Regions from separate parts of the Homo sapiens genome. Here region 1 is linked to region 2. Evidence: promoter capture Hi-C in 16 types of primary human blood cells and fetal thymus (Javierre and others, 2016). All regions are on one chromosome and are shown on one strand. The core of a region is centred on a gene start or on the middle of the fragment in contact, and the rest is flanking DNA. Distances in the headings are between cores, read along the strand shown. Region 1 holds the start of GABRR1 (gamma-aminobutyric acid type A receptor subunit rho1). Region 2 holds the start of SRSF12 (serine and arginine rich splicing factor 12).

Region 1 (5,969 bases), core at 2,610-5,109, 100 kb before region 2:
CCACTCACCTCTAAGCTGTTCCATGACAAAGAAATGCTATTCTTTTTATTGATCTTTCCATGGCTCGATTACAGCAGCAGCTTAAATAGTAGGCTTGACGATACAGTGAGTAAAGAAGCAGCTGCATCAGGAACTGAAAAATGGCTCTTCGGGTCATTGTTTCATCAAATTCCTTTCCTTTGCCTTTTTATTTGTCCCTTATCCCCTACCTGGAAAGGGCCAGTCCAATGCTGGGAGATTATGTTTAGGCATTGAGCTCAGAGCCAAATTGGTGCACGTGTACAGTCATCCCTCGGTACCAAGGGGATTGGTTCCAGGACCCCAAGGATTCCAAAATCCATGGATGCTTAAGTCCCTTCATAAAATGGGGTAGTATTTGCATATAACCTACACACATTCTCCTGTATACTTTAAATCATCTCAGATTACTTCTAATATCTAATACAATGTAAATACTAGCAAGTAGTTGTTATACTACATTAGTTTTTTGAATTTGTGTTCTTTGTTTTTCTATCCCCAGATATTTTTGATCTGCACTTGGTTGAATCTACAGATGTAAAACCCACGGATGCAGAGGGCTGACTGTGGCTAGAAAATGTGCTGCAGGGAGCACGTGGAAACAGCTGATGAGCACCTGCAGCCCCTGTTTGGGAGCAGCTGGGGTGTGCTGCCTGCCGTTCACCCATCAGTCAGTGAGTGCCTTGTGTGTGGTGTTGGGTTGGCTCTGAGGGCTTGGGGCAGGGAGACTTTTGATGGCCATGAGAAGATAAGCTGGAGTTAAGCATTGCCTGGTCCCTCTTCTGCTGAAGAAATTATTGCCCTGGAGACCCTGCATTGCTGTAGGGAAGGCCATGATGGCTGAGGAATAAAAAGGAGAGTGAGAAGAGAGAGAAGGCTGGCATACTCAATAAAGGAAAAGAAGAGTTTTGTCAAAAAATAGTGTTTTTGGCCAGGCGCGGTGGCTCATGCCTGTAACCCCAGCACTTTGGGAGGCTGAGGTAGGCGGATCACCTGAAATTGGGAGTTGGAGACCAGCTTGACCAACATGGAGAAACCCCGTCTCTACTAAAAATACAAAATTAGCTGGGTGTAGTGGCGAATGCGTGTAATCCCAGCTACTCGGGAGGCTGAGGCAGGAGAATCACTTGAACCTGGGAGGCAGAGGTTGTGGTGAGCTGAGATCATGCCATTGCACTCCAGCCTGGGCAACAAGAACGAAACTCCGTCTCAAAAAAAAAAGCATTTTTAAAACTTGGTCTGGAAGTGTTATAGTTCAGTAAGTCAGTCTGGATCCTTAATATGCTCTGATGCTGGCCCTAACTGGTTCTCTCAGGCCTCTTTACAACTCCCTTCTACATCCTTGTCCTATAAAGAGGGCACAGATACTCTCCGCATTAGAGCCACGTGGTGTTAGTGGGAAATAAAGTTGATTAAGAACATTTACAAGCAACAAAGTAGTGAAATGCCATGACTTTCTAAGTTCTCATGACAGCAGTAAGAGGGATGCATGGTTGGCTCAAGCCCAAAGCAGAAAGGGCTCTAAGACAGGGCCCCTCCCCTCAAGGTTCTGCCATAGGAACTTCTGGATGGAGGAAGTGGCCTTGTTGCAAAGGCTCAGCAGCTGGTACCGCCTGTCCTGCCATCAAACTAACTGGGGACCTGCTGAACCAGCTCTCCTTAGCTAAGAGAGGGTAGGAAATGCGTGTTTGAGGCCTTCCGGTTTGCTCTCTTTGGTTATGCCCAGGCTCCTGGCCCCTGGAGCTAGTCCAGGATCCTCTAAACAAGAAAGAAAGGTATTTTCCAATCTGGGCATTAGGAGCCATTTAATGTCCTTTCTACCTCCCCAATTTAATGCCTTATTGTCCTGTTCATTTTGATGTACTCAGCTCCAGAATATCTCCCTTTAGACAATTTGGTCTTTAAATCAGCAAGTCACTACAACTTAAGTATCCAACCATGCTTAGCTTACATTGACCTCGGGAGACATCACATATTCTGCCTTTATTTCTATATGTTGAATGTTTTTGACATCTATTAATTGAAAGCACGTTAAAGGATGATTTATATAAGAGGATATAATCATGACTCTCACATAACTATAAAATGAACAGACATTGAAGATTTTATTTAACTCATTATTTAGTTAAGGGACCAGTAAGATGTTACAACTGGTTCAAATAAGGGCTTGATTTATAGAGATTTATACTCTCCACAGCACAAAAGGAATAATTTGCATAGCTATGGACAGGAAAGCTATGCGTTACTATCAGTTTGCTACGTGTTAACATCTACTATTACAGAATTGTAAAATAGCCTAAAGACAATCAAAGTCATACATCCCTATAGGATCAGACAATCCCTGGAGGACCCGCTGGACAAGGCTTAGAATTCTATTGAAAGAACACCCAGTAATCTATTTTGCTCATTTCAAAGTTTGACGATTTTTCCTGACCATCTTCCTTCTCCTTGTTATTATATATAATTCTAAAGATTATTCTTGATCACAGAAAAAAGCTGGGCTCCTTAGGTTTGGCTGGTTACTTCTACAGTGCATCATAGATGCCTCCTTTGAAGTTTGCGTTGCAAAACCTAGAGCCATACGGTGTTGAATGATTCCAAATTAGCTCCTGCCTAGAAGTTATCATAAGGAATCTTAGCTTGGACTTCTAAAAGTGTCTGTTATTTTCTTTTCTTTTTTTGGGACGGAGTTTCATTCCTTATTGCCCAGGTTGGAGTGCAGTGGTGCGATCTCGGCTCACTACAACTTCCACCTCCCAGGTTCAAGCGATTCTCCTGTCTCAGCCTCCCAAGTAGCTGAGATTACAGGTGCCCGCCACCACACCGAGGTAATTTTTGTATTTTTAGTAGGGACAGGGTTTCACCATGTTGGCCAGGCTGGTCTCTAACTCCTGACCTCAGGTGATCCTCCCACCTTGGCCTCCCAAAGTGCTGGGATTACAGGCGTGAGCCACCGTGCCCCGCCATGTCTATTATTTTCTATCCTGCTAAGATTAGGAGACCAAGCCCAAGAAACTCCACCAAATTTTACCTGCAGTACCTATAGATTTGAGTGAATTCCTTTCTTCTAGAGGTTTCAGAAAAATACCTCCAAGTACTTGCCTAGAAGTGACTTTCCTTACTAACTGTAAGACTGGACACTATAAACTGGACCTACGTCAGGTTTCCTGAGAGGACATTATAGGCATTGGTTCCGTAAGTACAGCCAACCTTTATTCCTTAAAATGGCTTGTCACACCTCGTTAAATGAACATTATTCTCAAATAGGGCATTCAAGGCAAGGCTTTCATTGCATAATTGATGCTTCCAGTTGTATTTTGGCAAAAGGGAGGACAGATTCTTACTAAACCTATGCAAACAACTATATTGCCAAGAAATGTAGAGAGACTGGGTAAGAGTTTCTGAATTCAAATAAGAAGAATCGTGTTAGTGAGAATCATATATAATTTAAGAATACTTCATTCTGGTTTATAAAAGCAGAATTTAAAAGCTTATTGTGAATTACAGATAGCACAAGAAGAGAAAGAAAAGGCTTCTTACGATCTGGGAACAGAACCTTAAAACAACTGCATTTCAAATAACCCGAAAAAAATTTCTCTCATCAATTTTTTTTCAGTCTTGTGTAATTAATTCTCATTCTATTGGATCTTGGGTTAGCAGTTGTGTGAAACCGCTTTTCAGCTATAGAGTTATGGGAATCCTGACTCAGTTTACCGGTACAGTCTGAAAGTTACCAAAACCATGTCAGCTCAGCTTTGAAGAGTCAATAGTTTGGAGTACCTAATGCGGTCTCTTCCACGAGGCTCTGAGACTGTCTTTTGATGAAGACACAAGATCCGGCCTGTAGATTATAGCAGAGTCTTAAAGTAAGCATCAAAGCAAAAGAAAAACTGTCTACAAATAACACAGACTTGAGGCTACAGTTAATTTATTACTGGTATTTTTCAAATGTGGACAGTGCAGCAAGGTTCATGATAAGAACAATGCAACTGACAAGGAAATTTACTTGTTTCTGCGCCAAACAAAGACAAAAAAACCTCTTCCCCAGTTGCCCTCCCAATCTCAGCCATATAGACAGCCCACGCAGGTACCGAGCCCTGGGGTTTCAGGGATTCAGCCACAGGAAGTGGGGGCAGGAAGCTGTCCAAATCCAGCCCTCAGCTAAAGCAAATAATAATGGCCGTAAGCTTAAAATAGATCCAGGGAGGAGCTCATTAACGTGAACATAGAAAGCAGTTCCGCACCTCTGGCCTTACTCCTCTTGGAAATTGCTTTGGTCCATTTTTACTTCCTTTTATTCGACGCACCAGAAAATAAGACTTTTACCAACATTTTTACTGCATTTGACGATGAACTAATTTAGACCGGCTAAAATAATTGTTCCACTGGGACACAGGAATTCAACCTCAGTTCAGAAAATCCCTGACATCTGACGTAGGAGGATTTATAGGTTTAGTGGAAATTGCTTTCTCCTGCTCTCCAGATTGCATCCTGTGGGTTGATTTTTTTTTTGCATGAGTAAACATCCTTCTAATAATGAACAGACCAATAATGTCTTAAGAGAGAAAAAGAACAATCTTTTCCTTTTTGCTGTTTCTGGAGAGAGCTGTTTGAATTTGGAAACCCATGTTGGCTGTCCCAAATATGAGATTTGGCATCTTTCTTTTGTGGTGGGGATGGGTTTTGGCCACTGAAAGCAGAATGCACTGGCCCGGAAGAGAAGTCCACGAGATGTCTAAGAAAGGCAGGTGAGTGGACATTTAGGGATAGAGGATTTAGGAAAAGAGGATGCACAAAGTGAGCTTACAGTGTTCTTCTAGAAACTGAGCATCATTTCCAGCGTATGGTGTTTTGTGTGGATGCCTTTTTCTTCCCCTTCCCTTTGTTCTCCTGCTGCTCCCCTTTTAGAAAGTTAGAATTACGTTTTCTTTTAAAATGATGCTAGATTAGATCATTTTATCAGTGCATTTTTAAAATTCCTTATGAATTGTCCTGGGTGAAAGGTAGATTCTGGAAAATAGAATATATGCACATTTAAAAAAAATATCAAGGGCAATTGTTTGCTGTCTGTGTCCTAGGGTTAGAACAACTCTGTGAATTCTCAAATTACCAATGGGACCTGTATTTCATGAGAATGATTCTGCTCTAATTATTTCTGTTAGATTTGTGAATCATTTTTTAATATTTTAAAAGAAAGCAGCTTTCTCCAAGCTGTGTGACTAGAAGGATCATTATTAGATGGTTCCCTACCTATAAATTGGGAGGGCCAGGGACGGAGCCTCCTGCAGGCAAGTGCTTGCCTGTGGTCAACACCAAAGGTGCATGGTGCCCTGTCTGCCAGCACTTGCAGAGGGAGCTTACACAGGAAACCAGGTTCCCCACCAGCCCCTTAGCACTCGGCCTCACCTGGGCCATTCTGACGGCAGCACTGGCAATGTCTATCTGGGATGCACACCTGCTTGCCCGGCATCAGTCAATAATACAGGAGACTTGGAGACAACCTAATCCAGTGCTCTCTGTACTGATGAGGAAATGGAGACAGTAGGGCGTTGTTGATTCTTGGTCCTTTCTTAGCCTTAGCTTCAAATTGAACTTCACCTTTCTTTTGAGTGTAAATATAAATAGAGTCTGAGAGATCAGTGAATATGAAAAGATATCTAGCTTTTGGGAGTTTGGGGTTAGGAGGAGGGCTGTGTCTAGCACCTCAGTGTCCTCCTTCTGGGGCTGGAGGGAGCCCTCATCACATGGGCTCCCAAACAGCCAGCTGTAGCTCACAGCATTTGTTTCAAGCTGTTCTTAACAACATCACAAAACTAGGAGCTGAAATATCCAGTGGTCATGGTGAGCCCTGGGGTGCTAAGGGAGGCCACTGTGCCCTATTACCATCAGAGTCAGAAGTTGCTTGGGCAAACACTGGAACTTGTGGATTGGTGCAGCCGTAGAGATTATTT
Region 2 (6,815 bases), core at 530-3,029:
CATAGACTCCATCTAAAATAAAAAGAGAGAGAGACAGAGAAAGAGAGAGAGAAAGACAGGAGGCCATGTGAAGACAGAAGTGGAGACTGGATCTATGTATCCACAGCCAAAACATGTGTGGGGCCACCAAAGACTGGAAGAAACAGAGGATTCCCCTAGAGTGCCTTCAGATAGATGATGGCCCTGCGGACACCTGGATTTCAGACTTCTGGCCTCTGAACTACAAGAGAATAAATTTCTGTTGTTTCGGGCCACCAAATCTGTGGTGCTTTGTCATGGCAGCCCTAGCCAACTAACACATGGTAAGCATTCTAAGCTTTTGTATTATGAATCCAGCCTGCTCTCCAGCCTCATTTTCCAACTCTTCTCCAGCCTCATGCTCCTGTTTTGCCTCATTTACTATATTGCCTCAAAGCCTTTGCACGTGCTGTTCCACTGCACTAATTACTCTTCTCCATTCTTTACCCATCTCTTCAAGACTTGTTCAGGGAACATAAGTGACCCTCTAGCCTTGCTCACCATCCCACAATGCCTGCTCTCAGCAGCATATAGTTCTTTTCATAGCCCTGTATTATAGTTTGTATCTTTACCAGTGTGATTGTTAGATTCTGCCTCCCTACCAAATTCTAAGCTCTAGGGGAATAGGCACGGTGCCAGTCTAGCCCTGTGCCTGCAGTGCCAGAGCAATCCCTTCTGAATGAAAGAATAGCCACCGTTCCAGTACAGCTGCAGACCCAGGAACCTCCACAGCCTCTGGGAGGGCTGTGAGCTAGAAGGGTGACCACGACATGTATTCTTCAAAGCCTACCACTTCTGCGAGCGAAAAGGGGCACTCTTCACACTTAGGAGTTGCCTGGTTACACTCCCAGCCCTGAATAACAGGCTGTGCCTGCCGGCCACAGGAGCAAGGCGAAGACGAGTCTAACTAGAAGGGGATGGGCTACAACATTTTGGGGGAATAGGGAGAGGGTAATTTAAATTTTGCTTAACTGTCCCTGCATTTAAACTGTTGTCTTCTACATCATGTATTCATTTGTACATTCGTTTGTCCCCCCTCTAGAATGTAAGCTCAGAGGGCGGGGCTTGGCCTGTTTGTTCATTGCTATATCCCACGCTAAGTGCCTGGCGCATAGTAGACGCTCAATAAACATCTGAATGAATGTACTCACAGCTGAGTGTTATGCCCCAAGTGAATAAAGGATGAAGAATCATATAATACTTAAAAATCCAACAGGCCAGGCGCGGTGGCTCACACCTGTAATCCCAGCACTTTGGAAGGCCGAGGCGGGAGAGGCTTGAGCCCAGGAGTTTGAGACCACCTGGGCAACACAGCGAGACCCCGTCTCTATTAAAAAAACAAATCCGAACAAAACCGAGACCTCACAGTTGGAAAGCCGAAGGCTCAAGACCAGAGGGGCAGGAGGCCTACCAACTGCCAAGGTCCTGCGCTCAGGACGATGCGCTGAGGGCCGCGGAGGCTGAGCGGGGGCGCGGTTGAAAGCGGCTCTCACTGACCCCACCTCCGCCCAGCCGCAGCCCCGCCACCACCTCTGGGTCCTCTAACCCCCGGCGTCCCCGCCGCGGCCTCAAGCCCCCTCTTGGCCTCCGCCCTCCTGACATACACTGGCCCTCGCCGCCCCCTCCCCAAATCCCGTCGCACTCCAGGACCCCCCATACCCGGATCCCATAGGGCCTGGGAACGGCCGCGCTCCTGTCTTCGGAATTCCCGCGGCCCCTGGGCCGCGCCGGCGCCGCCCCCGCCCCCGGCCCGTGCGTCCAGGCTGGCGCCGCGCTGCGCCCCCTCTGCGCCGGCCTCTGCGGCTGCGCGCTGGCGGGGCTGAGGCCGAGGGGTGGGGGTCGCGCCGGGGGCCGGCGGAGCTCCTGTGGTGGTAGCAGCGGTAGCGGGAGACGGAGCGAGTCCAGCGGCCGCGGGCAGACCCGGAGGGAACGGAGGAAGCGGTCATGTCTCGCTACACGAGGCCCCCCAACACCTCCCTGTTCATCAGGAACGTCGCGGACGCCACCAGGTGAACGGCCGCGGCTGCAGGTTGGGGGCGCGGAGGAGGGGCGGGGTAACAGCCGCGCCGCGGAGCACGGCCGAGGCCCGGCGGAGGCTCGGGGGAGCTGCGCGGAGCCTCCCCGCGGGCCCAGGCTGCGCCACTTGGGGAGGTGTGAGCCCTCGGACTACTCCGCGGCCCAGGGCGGAACTCGCGCCTCCGCCCTCCCGGCCAGCTTTCAGCCCCGGCGCCGCGCACATCGTGTCCCGGGCCCGCGTCGCTTTCCGCGGTTCAGCACCGCAGCCGGCGGGCCGTGGGACACGGGGCGCCCCTCTCCCGAGCTCAGGTCGCTCCCCGCCGGGAGTCGGGAGGGTTTGCGCTCCAGCGAGTGCCCGCGTTTCAGCTCCTTTGTCGCCGTGCCCCGATAAAATCGCGCGCATCCAACCCTCCTAGATGGAGAGGAATTGGGGCTGGTGAGAACGTTTTGTACCATAATGCGTACTCGGGCCTTACAGTTTCTTTCCCCCAGTTCTGGTCTACTTACAGACGGTGCTGCTTGCATTTTATTCACACAATTTTATTCTGCATACAAAAAATAACTTCAATGAATGAGATCAGTGCGTTTTTCTTTAAAGTTCTGAGTCCAGTATTAACACCCTTTTTAAGGGCGTGAGTATAGGCTCACCTGGTTGATTCTGATGCCCCACCCCTCCGTTGAGAATTTTGTCTACAGAGTGTCTGAACACAGATACTAAGGAATGACTTTTTCATATAGCACTTCCTTCCTTAATGGAGCTGAAGAAATTGGGGGCGGGGGGAGAGGGAACGGTGTTAATAGACATTCTCATTTCACTGGGCTTCATTTACTTCCCCCCAGCCTTTCTACCTATGCAGTACTGTTTTATTGTACATAAGGGAGAGCGGAAACTAAGAGTTTTAATGATTTACCTGGGGCCAGAGAGGTATAGATACATGGAGCTCTTGACTCCATAGTCATCTGAGATGAGTATTATAATTTACCTTTGAGGAGTAAATAAACGTTAAGTATTTTTTATTTTTTAGTTTTTTTTTTTTTTTTAGACAAAGTCTCGCTCTTGTCCCCCAGGCTGGAGTACAATGGCCCGATCTTGGTTGGCTGCAACCTCTGCCTCCCGGGTTCAAGCGATTCTCCTGCCTCAGCATCCAAAGTAGATGGGATTACAGGCGTGTGCCACCACACCCGGCTAATTTTTATATTTTTAGTAGAGATGAGGTTTCATTATGTTGGCCAGGCTGATCTCCAACTCCTGACCTCAAGTGATCCGCCCAGCTCGGCCTCCCAAAGCGCTGAGATTACAGGCATGAGCCACCGTGCCCGGCCAAGTATTTTTTATTTGATCACCGCAAGTACATGTATCACAACTATATGTTGTGGTTAATATATCTTAGTTAACATCTAAAAGGTGCCTTGTTTACATTTCTTCTGTCAGCCTTTTTATCAATATATTACATAGAAAACACGAACATAATTTATGATTTGGGCAGAATTAAAAAACCTTGCAGTTGAACAGACAACTTGAAAATGGAATAAGCATCAAGCCTCTTCAGGGTGTCTGTAGAAAAATCAGAGGTTTCCAATTCTAATGGTTCACAGGGGCCAGCCGGGGTAATATAAACGAGTGAAGCTGCCAGCCTATAAGGCACAGTAGGATGGTGTGGACTATCAAATAGAAATAGAATAGCAAATAGAAAAGGAAATATGCCATCTAAAAGGTGCAGCATCTGCCTCTAGGCTCCAGCTGACAGCTGCCATGTAGACATCTGGACTTATTGTTGATATATCTTACTAGTTGTAAAGAGAAATCAGAAATCTGGATTTTGTATGTGTAATCTTAGTCTTTAGATGCATTAAGTTGAATCATATGAAAATCCCATTCGTGGCCGGGTGCGGTGGCTCATGCCTGTAATCACAGCACTTTGGGAGGCTGAGGCAGGCGGATCACGAGGTCAGGAGATGGAAACCATCCTGGCTAGCACGATGAAACCCCGTCTCTACTAAAAATAAAAAAATTAGACGGGCGTGGTGGCGGGTGCCTGTAGTCCCAGCTGCTCAGGAGGCTGAGGCAGGATAATGGTGTGAACCCGGGAGGCGGAGCTTGCAGTGAGCCAACATCGCGCCACTGCACTCCAGCCTGGGAGACAGAGCGAGGACTCCGTCTCAAAAAAAAAAAAAAAAAAAAAAGAAAGAAAAAAGAAAACCCCATTTGTAGATTTGAAAGCTGTAAAATATAAGGCTGGGCGCGGTGGCTCACGCCTGTAATCCCAGCACTTTAGGAGACCGAGTTCGGCGGATCACTTGAGGTGAGGGGTTCGAGACCAACCTGGCCTACCTGGTGAAACCCCGTCTGTACTAAAACACAAAAATTAGCCAGGTGTGGTGGCTGGCGCCTGTAATCCCAGCTACTCAGGAGACTGAGGCACGAGAATCGCTTGAACCCCAGAGGTGGAGGTTGGCAGTGAGCCGAGATCAGGCCACTGCACTCCAGCCTGGGCGACAGAGTGAGACTCTGTCTCAAAAAATAAATAAATAAAAGAAAGCTATAAAATGTAGCCTGGTGTATGACACCTGTAGTCCCAATTACTGGGAAAGCTGAGGTGGGAGCCCGGGAGGTCACTTGAGCCCGGGAGGTCAAGGTTACAGTGAACGATGATCACATCACTGTACTCCAGCCTGGGTGACAGAGAGACCTTTAGAGAGTCTAAAAAAATAAAAGCTGTGGCCGGGCGTGGTGGCTCACGCCTATAATCCCAGCACTTTGGGAGGCCGAGGTGGGCAGATCACGAAATTAGGAGTTTGAGACCAGCCTGGCCAACATGGTAAAACACCGTCTCTACTAAAGATACAAAAAATTCACCAGGCATGGTGGTGCGTGCCTGTGATCCCAGCTACTCGGGAGGCGGAGACAGGAGAATCGCTTGAACCCGGGAGGTGGAGGTTGCAGTGAGCCGAGATAGTACCATTGCACTCCAGCCTGGGCGACAGGGCGAGACTCTGTCTCAAAAACTAAAAAAATAAAAGCAGTAAAATATTGGCAATTTCATATTTATACGCATTTTAAAAATGTTTAAACGTCATGCAGGCCAAATAAAACACATCTGCAGGTGACACCTGATCTCTGATCTATGTACTTCATTCACCAGTGAGTGATTGAGACTGATAGTTGAGATTGACTGATTTCCTTTTCCATTTTTTCACTTTTTTTTTTTTTTAGCTTTGCCACTGGCAGACAATCAAAATCTACAAGATTATATTACATGAATGAAATCTCTAACATTTGTTGAATACTCACTGTGTACTAGGTGCCATACTAAAAACATTACATATATTAAATTTTCGCAGTAACCCTATAATGTATGGTGGTTTTTTTGTTTGTTTGTTTTATTTTGAGACAGAGTCTTGCTGTGTCAGCCAGGCTGGAGTGCAGTGGCACGATCTCGGCTCACTGCAACCTCCGCCTCCTGGGCTCAAGCAGTTCTCCTGCCTCAGCCTCCCGAGTAGCTGGGATTACAGATGTGTGCCACCATGCCTGGCTAATTTTTGTATTTTTAGTAGAGACGGGGTTTCATCATGTTGGCCAGGCTGGTCTCGAACTCTTGATGTCAGGTAATCCGCCCACCTTGGCCTCCCAAAGCACTGGGATTACAGGCATGAGCCACTGCGCCTGGCCGTATGTTCTTTGTTAACCCCATTTTACCGATGAGAAATCAACGTTTAGGTTAAGTATTTTGCCTAAGATCGAATAGCAGGTGAGTGATGATATGAAATTAGAATCATCACATGTAATCTGTATTAACCTTTTAGTACAAAGTAGTATACAGTATAAGTTAACTAGCAATGTGACATGTAGACACTTTTAAAATTAGCTTTAAAGATAGGGCACAGTGGCTCATGCCTGTAATCCCAGCACATTTGGAGGCTGAGGTGGGTAGATCACTTAAGCTCAGGAGTTTGAAACCAGCCAGGGAAACATAGCAAAACCCTGTCTCACCAAAAAATACAAAAATTAGCCAGGTGTGGTAGTGCGCACCTGTAGTTCAGCTATTTGAGAGGCTGACGTGGGAGGATCGCCTGAGCCCAGGTGGTCGAGGCTGCAGTGAGTCAAGATGGCACCACTGCACTCCGGGGGTGAGAGTGAGACTCTGTCTCAAAAATAAATAAATAAATAGGCTTTAACATTTAGTATGCTTATAAACAAAATCTTTGGGGCCTGGCACGGTGGCTCACATCTATAATCCCAGCACTTTGGGAGGCCGAGGCACGTGGATCACTTGAGGTCAGGAGTTCGAGATGAGCCTGGCTAACATAGTGAAGCTCCATCTCTACTAATAATAGAAAAAATTGGGCTGGGTGCGGTGGCTCACGCCTATAATCCCAGCACTTTGGGAGGCCAAAGTGGGCGGATCACGAGGTCAGGAGTTCGAGACCAGCCTGGCCAATATGGTGAAACCCTGTGTCTACTAAAAATATAAAAATTAGCTGGGCGTGGTGGCACTCGCCTGTAGTCCCAGCTACTAGGGAGGCTGAGGCAGAAGAATCGCATGAACCTGGGAGGCAGAGGTTGCAGTGAGCCAATACCGGCCACTGCACTCCAGCCTGGGTGACAGAGTGAAATTGTGTCTCAAAAAAAAATAAATCATTGGGATAAAATGTTAAATAAAACATATGTAAAATTATATATGCAGCATGATTTCAGTTACAGTCATGCATCAGTTAAGGACAGAGATAGGTTCTGACAAATCCATTTGGTGATTTTGTTGTTGTACAAACCCAAACCTACT

The links. The method cuts DNA at HindIII sites, captures the fragments that hold promoters and counts their contacts. A CHiCAGO score of 5 or more calls a contact.
Region 1: a contact is called between a fragment that was not itself captured here and the fragment with the promoter of SRSF12 in region 2, in 1 of 17 cell types (M1 macrophages). The highest score is 5.5, in M1 macrophages.

Annotation. Positions count from the first base shown.
Region 1 is chr6:89,215,998-89,221,966 of GRCh38, reverse strand. It overlaps GABRR1 (gamma-aminobutyric acid type A receptor subunit rho1), which reads left to right and starts at 4,609. Exons shown (of 10, transcript NM_002042.5): 1 at 4,609-4,766. The coding sequence starts at 4,645. The HindIII fragment of the contact is 697 bases long and covers 3,511-4,207 here.
Region 2 is chr6:89,113,035-89,119,849 of GRCh38, reverse strand. SRSF12 (serine and arginine rich splicing factor 12) reads left to right here and starts at 1,779. Exons shown (of 5, transcript NM_080743.5): 1 at 1,779-2,027. The coding sequence starts at 1,963. It also overlaps a transcript of PM20D2 not described here. RefSeq lists a silencer at 1,926-2,195. The HindIII fragment of the contact is 10,924 bases long and covers 319-6,815 here.